2 separate regions of the Homo sapiens genome follow, and region 1 is linked to region 2. Evidence: promoter capture Hi-C in 16 types of primary human blood cells and fetal thymus (Javierre and others, 2016). All regions are on one chromosome and are shown on one strand. Each heading gives the region's core, a stretch centred on a gene start or on the middle of the fragment in contact. The rest is flanking DNA. Distances are from core to core; before and after follow the strand shown.

Region 1 (5,545 bases), core at 2,565-5,064, 140 kb before region 2:
ATTTAAGTACCTACAGACTAAAAGAAGTCCAATCCAACAGATTCTAGATCTCACTTTCCCCCTCAAGAGCATCTGTTAGTGTTAACCATTTGGTCTGTAATACACTTTCCTACTTTTCTCTTCATTCGATATGTCTTCTATTCAGGATCCTTCTCTTCAACATCTAAATATAGGAGTTTCTCAAGACCTAGTAGTAGGTATCTTCTCTTTTCACTGTATTTAGCCCACTCAACTGTTTTCTGGGGAGAATTAAGACCAAATACCCTAAGGCTTCCATTATGAGTATGAGTGAACTTCTGTGCATCTAGAATGTTAACAGCTACCATCTTTGACAGAATTGACAAAACCCCAGTTGAGAAAGGCTGCTCTATAACCTCATCTACATTTCACCTTATCTACATCCTGGTTTCAATTACCACCTCTATGTTAATGGATAAGATTTCTATGTGTAACTTAACTATCTTCTATGAACTCCAGACATAAAGTGCTGTTCAAAATGTCCAACAGGATGTTTCAACAGTAATGCAAACTCAACATGTTCAAGGATAATAGACAACACAATCTTTAAATCTACTCTGTATCTCAGACATCCAAATTTCTCTAGAATGTAAGTTCTCTGGAAACGTGAACTGTGTAAGTTCTCTGGAAACGTGAACTGTGTATTTACTATCATAACCTCAGCACCTAAAATGCTGCACTGTACAAAGGGTAAAGTCTAAGTTTTTATTGAATGAATAAATCAATCTAGCAGCTACAGCAAAAAATTATGTATCTGCAATTCATTAAACATACTTTCTGACATATAATAAATGCCTGAGAAAATGTACTATTGTCTTCAATAAACTTTTATTTTTATTTTTGTTTTTTTGAGAAAGAGTATTGCTCTGTCGCCCAGACTAGAGTGCAGTGGCGCAATCTCAGCTCACTGCAAATTCCACCTCCCTGGTTCAAGTGATTCTTGTGCCTCCGCCTCCTGAGTGGCTGGGATTACAGGCACCCACTACCACACCCAGCTACCCAGCTAATTTTTGTATTTTTAGTAGAGACGAGAGTTTCACCAGGTTGACCAGGCTGGTCTCAAACTCCTGGCCTCAAATGATCCACCTGCCTTGGCCTCTCAAAGTGCTGGGATTACAGGCAAGAACCAACGCACCCAGCCTGTCTTCAATAATTAAAAGGGAGAGAAAACATAACTCTTATGAGTATGAAGTGACACAGGGTAAGAAAATAAGAAGAAAAACAGTACAGAAAAACCACCACCAAAAAAAAAAAAAAAAAACTGTTCAAATAATCAGAGTTCTCCGAACATAGTGAAAGCTATCTAAGGGAGTAATAAAAACCACCTTGCTCATGAGAACTGAAAAGCTCTATATTTCTAGTTGTATATCTTATATGATGTTCTTCTCTGTGCCAAGAAAACAAATAATATACAATATAATCAATTTCTTCAAAAAGTGTATAATCTAGTTGGATAAAGGTAACAAATATTTTATGTGCTGAACATATGTCAAATTATGCCTGCAAATTAACTGAGAATTTTGGGATAAACTCAAATACGTTTATAAATTGGGATGCCGTTGAACAAAGAAAGGAGTGCTTCTAAAAAGATGCTTTTGCTGAATTAAAGGTAGTTTCTTACTTATTCAACTGAATGTTAACATCATTTGGAAGTTAAGAAAAGTTTCTTACCATTAAAACAGTCTTGGAGGAATCACCAGAGTATCTGATACTGAATACTCCCAACATCCCCAGAAAACAAAAGAAAGTAAATGTGGCCAGATTTCGAATATCTAGTAATGACTCTATAAGTGGTATTGTTCCCATGGTCCAATCACAGCAGAGCTCTGAAGGATTTAATAACAACCAAGCATTCACAGGAAGGAGGTAGTTAAAAGTTAGTTGCCTTGTAGGAGTTGGGCTTACAGCAGCTGGGTTATCAAACCTGTATAAAGGATTAAAAAAAAGATTACAAATAAAACTTTTAAAGTACAGAATTATTTACATAAGTAAAACACTAAACAATAAACATTTTATATATCATCTTATTAAACAGAAGACACAGACAAATGTTATGTGTACCTCAGACTCTTGCTAGAGTTCAAACTATCAAAACTTTATGAAACATCTACTTCAGAGAAGTGATATTTATGAAGGACTGTTTGAAAGGCAAGCAGGTCATCCATTTCTGTTTATTATTAGAATAATTCAGACATGCATCCTATAATATTACAACACTGCAAAAGTGTTCCATTAAACCTTTTGATTAAAAGTAGTAACAAAAAGTTGTATAAGATTTATGGTTGTATGTGTTGTATGAATCACTTTTGAAAACACTCACCAATGCTTTCCTACATGAGACATTTCTTTTAGAGCTAAATGCTAATTAAAAATTATGCTTCCTGGAAAAAATTCGTATATTTTTCTTCTGTCATGGAGAGAGAAAACCATATCACCTAGCTTCCTTCCCTCTTTTCTTTGACTCCTAGGAAGCTAAAAACCAAATTTCTAGTACAAAGTAGTAACTGTGTAGGCCTGTGTAAGAATTTGTGTTCTACTTTCTCTCTTAGTAAATACTAATATAAGCTTATATCATAGTTTATCTTTTCCCAGGCCACAACATATATACATTTCATTAGTTTAGTCTGTGTTCTAAATTATATTGGTTATAATATATAGTACTTAAAAGACCCATTTTCTCATTTTAAGATGAGTAAGCCAAGGAAAATCAACTACTGCCACTTATTTGACTTGATTTTCTGAAAACATATCAAATATTTGATAAAAATAAATACTATTTGAACAAATAATATCATTTCAAAATTTTCATACGGAATCTCACAACTTACATATTATTTTTCAGATAAAATAATAAATCTTGAGTCTGAACTTGAATTCTCAAAATAACCAGCAGAACTGAATAAAAAGTTATCTTTTTGCCTATAATTCACTATTCGGAATTTAGTTTTAAAAATTACAGTTTATTTAGGATAGCTGATTTAAAGAAAGAGTTAATGTCAAAATAAATCAAATTATATTAAATCCAACTTCAGAGGGTAATAGAATTTATACACACATACACAAACATATATACACAATGTTGAAATGCTTTATTTGGAAAATATTTATATGCTATAAGCACCATATTCATACCTACTAACACATACATAAATTCACACCTATAAACTATATTTTTAGACTGTAGATAGGGAAATAGAAAATAGTTGATTCAAATTCTCTAAAAGGAATAACAGAAAACCAATGAAACTAAGAAGGAAATCCGAAGTCTTATATAAACAATTCAATCTTCTCTATTTCCAATACTGTAATATCTGCACAAGTTCATTTTAGCACGGCTAGACTCAGAGATAAAAATCCAGGATATTAACAAGTAATTATTCTTTAAAGAAAAAAAAATGCTAGGGAGGATAGTTATGTGAAAATATCACACAGTTTTGGGTTTAAAAATTATCTGAATAAAATTTATTCTACCCAGCGCCAGCAATGCACGATCATGTAACATAATGTGAATAACATGTTGGCCTTTTGTTAAAAATAAAAGTTCTTGCATGTAATGGCAATAACTTAAAATTGAACAGGGAAATAGTATAAATTTCATTTTAAATTTTAGCCAAGTCAGGTGAAATGAAAAAAGGCTAAATGTTAAAGTAGATAAATATGATATGCAGACTTAAAATTCACTATATCTTCTGCTTTCTAGCCTTAAACAACTAAAAAACTGTATAAGAGGTATAATTTTTTTTTAAACATACTGAGCATAAGGTGAAAAAGGACTGTAATACCTGAGAGAAGAAAAACAAATAAGGGGAGCTTTTTCTGGAAAGAGTTTAGTACCTGGATAGAGTTTTTAGTCAGTAAAACAGCAAGAGGGAACCCAGGCTGAGCCCAGTGGTATACTGAATTGAGAGTATGAAGTTGGGAGCCCTAGGAGTGCGGGGGCTAGAATTAGTGAGGAAGAATCCAGACAGAAGAAAGCTGCTGAGAAAGAGAACCTGAGACATCTGTAGAGGGTCTCTCTCCAGTTTTCAATATTGATGAGTTCTTTTTTTTTTTTTTTTTTTTTTGAGACAAAGTCTTGCTTTGTCACCCAGGCTGGAATGCCATGGCACAGTCTTGGCTCACTGCAACCTCTGCCTCCCAGGTTCAAACGATTCTTGTGCCTCAGCCTCCCGAGTAGGTGGGATCAGTCGTGCACCACCACGCTGGCTAATTTTTCTATTTTTAGTAGAGATGAGGTTTCCCCATGTTGGCCAGGCTGGTCTCAAACTCCTGACCTCAAGTGATCACCTCAGCCTCTCAAAGTGCTGGGATTACAGGCGTGAGCCACCACACCTGGCCTGATTTTGATGAGTTCAAATCAGCACATATATGTGAGGAAATACCCATGGTCGGTGTAGTGGGTTGAATCATATTTCTAAAAAATTCATGTCTACCCTAACTTCAGAATGTGGTGTTATTTGAAAATAGTTTCTGCCAATATTAGTTAAGATGAGGTCACACTGGGTTAGGGTGGGCCCTAAATCCAACGACTGGGGTCCTCATAAAAAGAGAAGAAAGAGATACACTGGAAAAGAAGGCAATGTGAAGACAAAGTAGATTGAAGTGATGGAGTTACAAGCCAAGGAATGCCAAAGACTGCTAGCAACCACCAGAAACCAGCAGACAGTTATGGAACAAATTCTTCCTTAGAGCCTCCAGAAGGAACCAATTGTGCTGACATACTGATTTGGTATTTCTGGCCTCTTGAACTGTGAGGGAACAAATTTCTGTTATTTTAAGCTATTCAGTTTGTAGTTATTTGTTACAGCAGCCTTCAGAAAACTAATACAATCAGGCAAAAACCTCCTGAATGCATTAGAGCTAAAAATTCCCAAATATACCGAGCCAGGAATAGTTCCTCGGCAGACAGTGTGGAAATCTTCGTAATTTACAGTTCACATCCAATAGTCAAAAAGATCTTGCATCAGTAGTGAAGTGAAATTAGTCTTATCCTAAATGCTATTGTGGTCCCACAAAACAAAGCTTAAAAGCAAGACTGGGCTGGGTGCAGTGGCTCATGCCTGTAATCTCAGCACTTTGGGAGGCTGAGGTGGGCGGATCACCTCAGGTCAGGAGTTCAAGATCAGCCTGACCAATATGGAGAAACCCTATCTCTACTAAAAATACAAAAATCAGCTGGGCGTGGTGGCGCATGCCTGTAGTCTCAGCTACTCAGTAGGCTGAGGCAGGAGAATCGTTTAAACCTGGGAGGTGGAGGTTGCGGTGAGCCGAGATTGCGCCATTGCACTCCAGCCCTGGGCAACAAAAGCGAAACTCTAATCTCAAAAAAAAAAAGAAGAAAGAAAAAAAGCAAGACTGAAAGATAAAACATTTTCCAAGTAACTTAAATGCATTCCAGAATAAAACTCAAAATTTATAGAATACATTAAGGTAAAATTCACAAATGGTATCTGTTCAACAATTTCCCGACATGCAAAGAAGCAGAGAAATACAACCTATAATGAAGAGAAAATTTATTCAATAAAAA
Region 2 (5,776 bases), core at 3,208-5,707:
TCTCATAATTCTGAAGGGTCACCAAGGAGTTGCTACCAGCCACTGTACTTAAAGTGGTGTCACAGGATTACAAAATAGAAGAAAGTCTTTCTTCTCTGACTAATATGTTAGTGCTCTAGTAAGCATCAAAGATGAAAGACACACAATGTGAGCCTGCTTTGGCCAACACAAAGTACTTACAGAATTTTCAGGCCTACTTCCAGCCCTGGAGACAAATTTCCCATCATTCTTCATTACAGGAGTAATCATCCTCATAGGGCTGTAATAGCTTTTTTTTTTTTTTAGATGGAGTCTCGCTCTATCACCCAAGCTGGAGTGCAGTGGCTCAATCTTGGCTCACTGCAATCTCCACGGCTTGGGTTCAAGCGATTCTCCCGCCTCAGTCTCCTGAGTAGCTGGGATTACAGGCGTGTGCCACCACGCCCAGCTAGGTTTTGTATTTTTTTTAGTAGAGACAGTGTTTCATCATGTTGGTCAGGCTGGTCTTGAACCCCTGACCTCATGATCTGCCCACCTCTGCCTCCCAAAGTGCTAGGATTACAGGTGTGAGCCACCACGCCTGGCCGTAACAGCTTTTTTTTTTTTTAAGACCAGAATGAAATTCACAACAGTAAAGAATAGAACTGAAGAGAATAAGGAAAAGAAAAAAGGGGCTGAGGGAGAAGGAAAAGAAAAGAGAGTTTAAAAAGGTAGAGAAGGTAAGACTCCAGGCATTCTAAACACTACCAAAATGTACAGATCTATTTTATGTGCTCTGCAATGACAAAAAAAAAAAAAAAAAAAAAAAAAAATCCCATGTGAGTTTGACCTGTTTTTGCTGTGTCTACTGGAATGTAGCTGTTTGCACCTAACTTCAAGAAGTAAACACTTTTTTTCAGACTTTCTCCTTTGTAAAACAGGAATTCTCACAATGACTTTAATCATGATGTTACATGTAACATGCAATAATAGTGTTTGGTAAGAATATTTGAAAACAGTCCAATGAAGCTACAAGTTCGCAGGTGTAGACAGTGTTTATCTGGAGGCAAAACACACTTAAAATATTTCTTAGGGATGTTTCTCCCAGTAGCTTAAGTGCTTACTTCATGGGTGCTTTGTTCTAGAGTTAGAAGATAGGGCAAAACAAAATGTAGTTATATTTTTCTATGTATCTTTGCCAGTATTTTCAAGGGTTTAGCCAAATCTTTATTCTCTACTTCATTTACCTCTCACACTACCTCGTTTTTTTAATTATGTTCAATTTACATTTAAAAACTTTTTTCTATATTTTATTTTATTTTACATATCAGATTTTTATCCTAAAACATTGTCTTCCAAAAGTTCCCAGCAGCTTAGCTTGTTTTACATAACCGAAGTGGGAATTCATATTTGTCTTAGTCTTTTACATTTCTAATTAAACATACATGACAATTTAAAAATACGTTTTTATCTAGAGTAATGTGTGATTTTCATGGCACCTTTTATGTTATTTATTGATATGACTTGGCTGTGTCCCCACCCAAATCTCAACTTGAATCATATCCACCAGAATTCCTATGTGTTGTGGGAGGGACCCAGGGGAAGTAATTGAATCATGGGGGTGGGTCTTTCCCATGCTAATCTCATGGTAGTGAATAAGTCTCACAAGATCTGATAGTTTTCTCAGGGGTTTCCACTTCTGCTTCCTCCTCATTTTATCTTGCTGCCACCATGTAAGAAGTGCCTTTTACCTCCCACCATGATTCTGAGGCCTCTCTAGCCATGTGGAACTGTAAGTCCAATTAAACCTCTTTTTCTTCCCAGTCTTTATCAGCAGTGTGAAAGCAGACTAATACAGTAAATTGGTACTAGTAGAGTGGGGTGTTGCTGAAAAGATACCCAAAAATGTGGAAGTGACTTCAGAACTGGGTAACAGGCAGAGGTTGGAACAGTTTGGAGGGCTCAGAAGAGACAGGAAAATGTGAGAAAGTTTGAACCTCCTAGAGACTTGTTGAATGGCTTTGACAAAAATGCTGATAGTGATATGAACAATAAGGTCCAGGCTGAGGTGGTCTCAGACAGAGATGAGGAACTTGTTGGGAACTGGAGCAAAGGTGATTCTCGTTATATTTTAGCAAAGAGACTGGCAGCATTTTGCCCCTGCCCTAGAGATTTGTGGAACTTTGAACAAAGTACCTGAGAGATGATTTCAGGTATCTGGTATTGCTGAATCTGGAAGATTGAATGCTTAGCAAAGCATTCAAAAGGTGACTTGGGTGCTGTTAAAAGCATTCCATTTTAAAAGGGAAACAGAGCATGAAAGTTTAGAAATTTGCAGCCTGATGATGCAGTAGAAAAGAAAAACCCATTTTTTGAGGAGAAATTCAAGCCAGCTGCAGAAATTTGTATAAGTAGCAAGGAGCCTAATGTTGATCCCCAAGACCATGGGGAAAATGTCTCCAGGGTATGTCAGAGACCTTCACGGCAGCCCCTCCCATCACAGGCCCAGAGGCCCAGGAGGAAAAAGTGGTTTTATGGGCTAGGCCCAGGGTCCCCGTGCCATCTGTAGCCTAGGGACTTGGTGCCCTGTGTCTCAGCCAATCTAGCCATGACTGAAAGGGGCCAACATAGAGCTCGAGCTGTGGCTTCAGAGGGTGCAGGCCCCAAGCCTTGGCAGCTTCCACATTGCTGTTGAGCCTGCAGGAGCACAGAAGGCAAGAATTGAGGTTTGGAAACCTCCACTTAGATTTCAGAAGATGTATGGAAACACCTGGATGCTTAGGTAAAAGTTTGCTGCAGAAGTAAGGACCTCATGGAGAACCCCTGCTAGGGCAGTGTGGAAGGGAAATGTGGGCTGGAGCCCCCACACAGAGTCCCTCCTGGGGCACTGCCTAGTGGAGCTTTTAGAAGAGAGCCACCATCCTCCAAACCCCAGAATGGTAGCTCCACTGACAGCTTGTGCCATGCACCTGGAAAAGCCACAGACACTTAATGCCAGCCTGTGAAAGCAGCCAGGAGGGAGGCTGTACCCTGCAAAGCCACAGGGTCAGAGTGCCCAAGACCATGGGAACCCACCTTTTGCATCCACATGACCTGGATGTGAGACCTGGAGTCAAAGGACATCATTTTGGAGCTTTAAAATTTGACTGCCCTGCTGGAATTAGGACATGCAGGGGTCCTGTAACTCCTTTGTTTTGGCCAACTTATCCCACTTGCAGTGGCTTTGCCCAATACCAGTATCCCCATTGTATCTAGGAAGTAACTAGCTTGTTTTTGATTTTACAGACTCATAGGTGGAAGGGATTTGCCTTGTCTCAGATGAGACACTGGACTGTGGACTTTTGGATTAATACTGAAATGAGTTAAGACTTTGGGGGACTATTGGAAAGGCATGATTGGTTTTGAAATGTGAGGACATGAAGTTTGGAGGGACAAGTGGTGGAATGATATGGTTTGGCTCTGTCTCCACCCAAATATCAACTTGAATTGTATCTCCCAGAATTCCCACATGTTGTGGGAGGGATTCAGGGGGAGGTAATTGAATCATGGGTACGGGTTTTTCCCATGCTAATCTCATGATAGTGAATAAGTCTCATAAGATCTGATCAGTTTATCAGGGGATTCTACCTTTACTTTCTCCTCATTTTCTCTTGCCACCGCAGTGTAAGAAGTGCCTTTCACCTCCTGCCATGATTCTGAGGCCTCCCCAGCCATGTGGAACTGTAAGTCCAATTAAACCTCTTTTTCTTCCCAGTTGGGTATGCTTTTATCAGCAGCATGAAAACGGACTAATACATTTATGAGGAATATTTTTTATTAATTTCTGCTGGGTTTTAATTATTTGATTAAAGATACTAAGAGGAAGATATAAATAACTGCTGATTGAAATGTTTCATTCTGGAAATCAGAGTATTTCCCTTGTTTTCAACAAATTCTCAAAGCCTTCAAGCACTCTGGAAACTTTCTGCTATAGGAAGAAGATATTCCTCTTTTTATGATGGATGAAAAATAAATGGAATATAGCCACAAGATGAATAAGTAGCCCAATATATTTTCAGGTACCTATTAATATATCACAATTTGAATATGATTTTTCCCAAATCAATGGATAGTAGAGAGTACATATTTAAATAATTGTTTTTATTATCTTAGAATATGAGTAGCTCATTTACCTATGGCAAATTTTTAGTGTTATTCCCAAAACCTCTATAGAAACGAAGATTTAGAAATAGCTGTTTACTTGTGAAATACTTATCACTTTCTATTATAAAAGTATAAACTAGTTTATAGTCCATATTCAACGAGAACATTGAAAGATTAAAGTATGCTATTTTATTTTTGCTAGTCCTTTGTAGTTAATATGCTAAAACTGAGTAAGGGAAATACAGTGTTCACTCAGGTAAACTGTAGTTTACCTGAGTGAACATTGGCCTGCAGTTACATGTGAGGTCATTTATGATGAGCAAACAATGGATTAGGTAACAATGAGGAAAATTCTAGAAGTTTGAGTTTGTGTGCTTACTAGCAACCACTTTCAGCGTTTCTGCAAAGCTAGAGAAGGTATCTTCTAATTTAAATGTCTTTAAGAATTATCTATTGCGTAATATACTGTCAACAGGAGGTCAGTTTTAAAGGAATACTACTGATAGCCTGAAAGACTGTGGAAAAGAAATTATTTTTCCCCCTTACACACTGATAGTTCTTGTATTTGCATTCCTGAAATTCATATATATTTTTCAAAAAAAAAAAACCATTGGATTAGCAGCAAGAGAGTTGAAAATGGCAGAAGTTGGGAATGACTGCTATTTCTTTTTTAATTCCACATGCATAAAGGTAAATATTGTACAATTGACAGTACTTCACATGCTTAATCTTTTTAGTAGAATGAAGGGAGATATGGCAATAACTTGTATTGCTGAACAAAAATTTACTATTTTCTTGCAAGATATCTTATATTTGTAAAATCTGGAGTAACAGCTTATCATGTATTTTTGACATACTGAATTTCTCTGAAGAAATCTGAGATAATTTAAAATTATTATTTGTTTGAAACTACCCTTATATATACCAGTTATATGTCTATAGCTTTTGAATCTTCATGTGGCACTTTTGCCTATATTATGACACCTTGAGACATTAAATTCCTAATATTAAAACATCATAGGTTACAAGATATTGTTTTAGTTAATATGATTCCAGTCATTATAATTCAAATAGTTGAATTCAGGTAAGTGTCAATCTTAGTGTAATAAATCTGTTTTCCTATTTGAAATTTATTAACCCAATTACTGAATTTTCCTCTGTCAAAAGTCTAAGTAATAACAAATATTTAAATATCATTAAAAAAGAAAATTAATATAAACAAATTGGCCACATATAAATTAAACTTTATAAAGTTAAATGGGAAAAACTGAGAATTCCTCCAATGTATTAGGATGTATAGATCTTAGTAAAACCAGATAAAGGTAGAAACTCAATATTTGGAGCTTTGTGCTCATGCAAGAAATAATCCAGTGAAAAAGATGATATGTCTGGTTTCAAGTGTTTCCTCTCTGTTAGGAAACCTGAATGGAGTCAACCTCTCTGACCACAGAAATTGGATTCACTTCTATTACCTGTTAGATTAAATGCTAGGATAATAAAGAATAATAACAGATTTCATGTCCCAGGTGGGCAGAGTGTTTTGTCTATTTCACTGCTGTATCCCCAAGTACTTAGCAGAGTGGCTAATGAGTAAGTTACCAGTAAATAATTAAATGAATAAATAATAATAATAGCTCACAATACCTTATATCACATCATTTTTACAGCTAACCTG

What was found. Contacts are between HindIII fragments. The CHiCAGO score rates a contact against its expected background, and 5 or more counts as called.
Region 1: a contact is called between a fragment that was not itself captured here and the fragment with the promoter of C12orf50 in region 2, in 5 of 17 cell types (non-activated CD4 T cells, naive CD4 T cells, total CD4 T cells and 2 more). The highest score is 7.6, in non-activated CD4 T cells.

What each region holds. Positions count from the first base shown.
Region 1 is chr12:88,162,727-88,168,271 of GRCh38, reverse strand. TMTC3 (transmembrane O-mannosyltransferase targeting cadherins 3) reads right to left here. Exons shown (of 14, transcript NM_181783.4): 7 at 1,690-1,942. Among named protein-coding and RNA genes, the nearest start is that of TMTC3, 23 kb to the right of the region's middle. The HindIII fragment of the contact is 2,457 bases long and covers 2,586-5,042 here.
Region 2 is chr12:88,028,082-88,033,857 of GRCh38, reverse strand. It overlaps C12orf50 (chromosome 12 open reading frame 50), which reads left to right and starts at 4,457. Exons shown (of 13, transcript NM_152589.3): 1 at 4,457-4,518. LOC107984542 (a long non-coding RNA gene) reads left to right here. Exons shown (of 3, transcript XR_007063395.1): 2 at 1-147; 3 at 590-765. The HindIII fragment of the contact is 7,634 bases long and covers 1-5,776 here.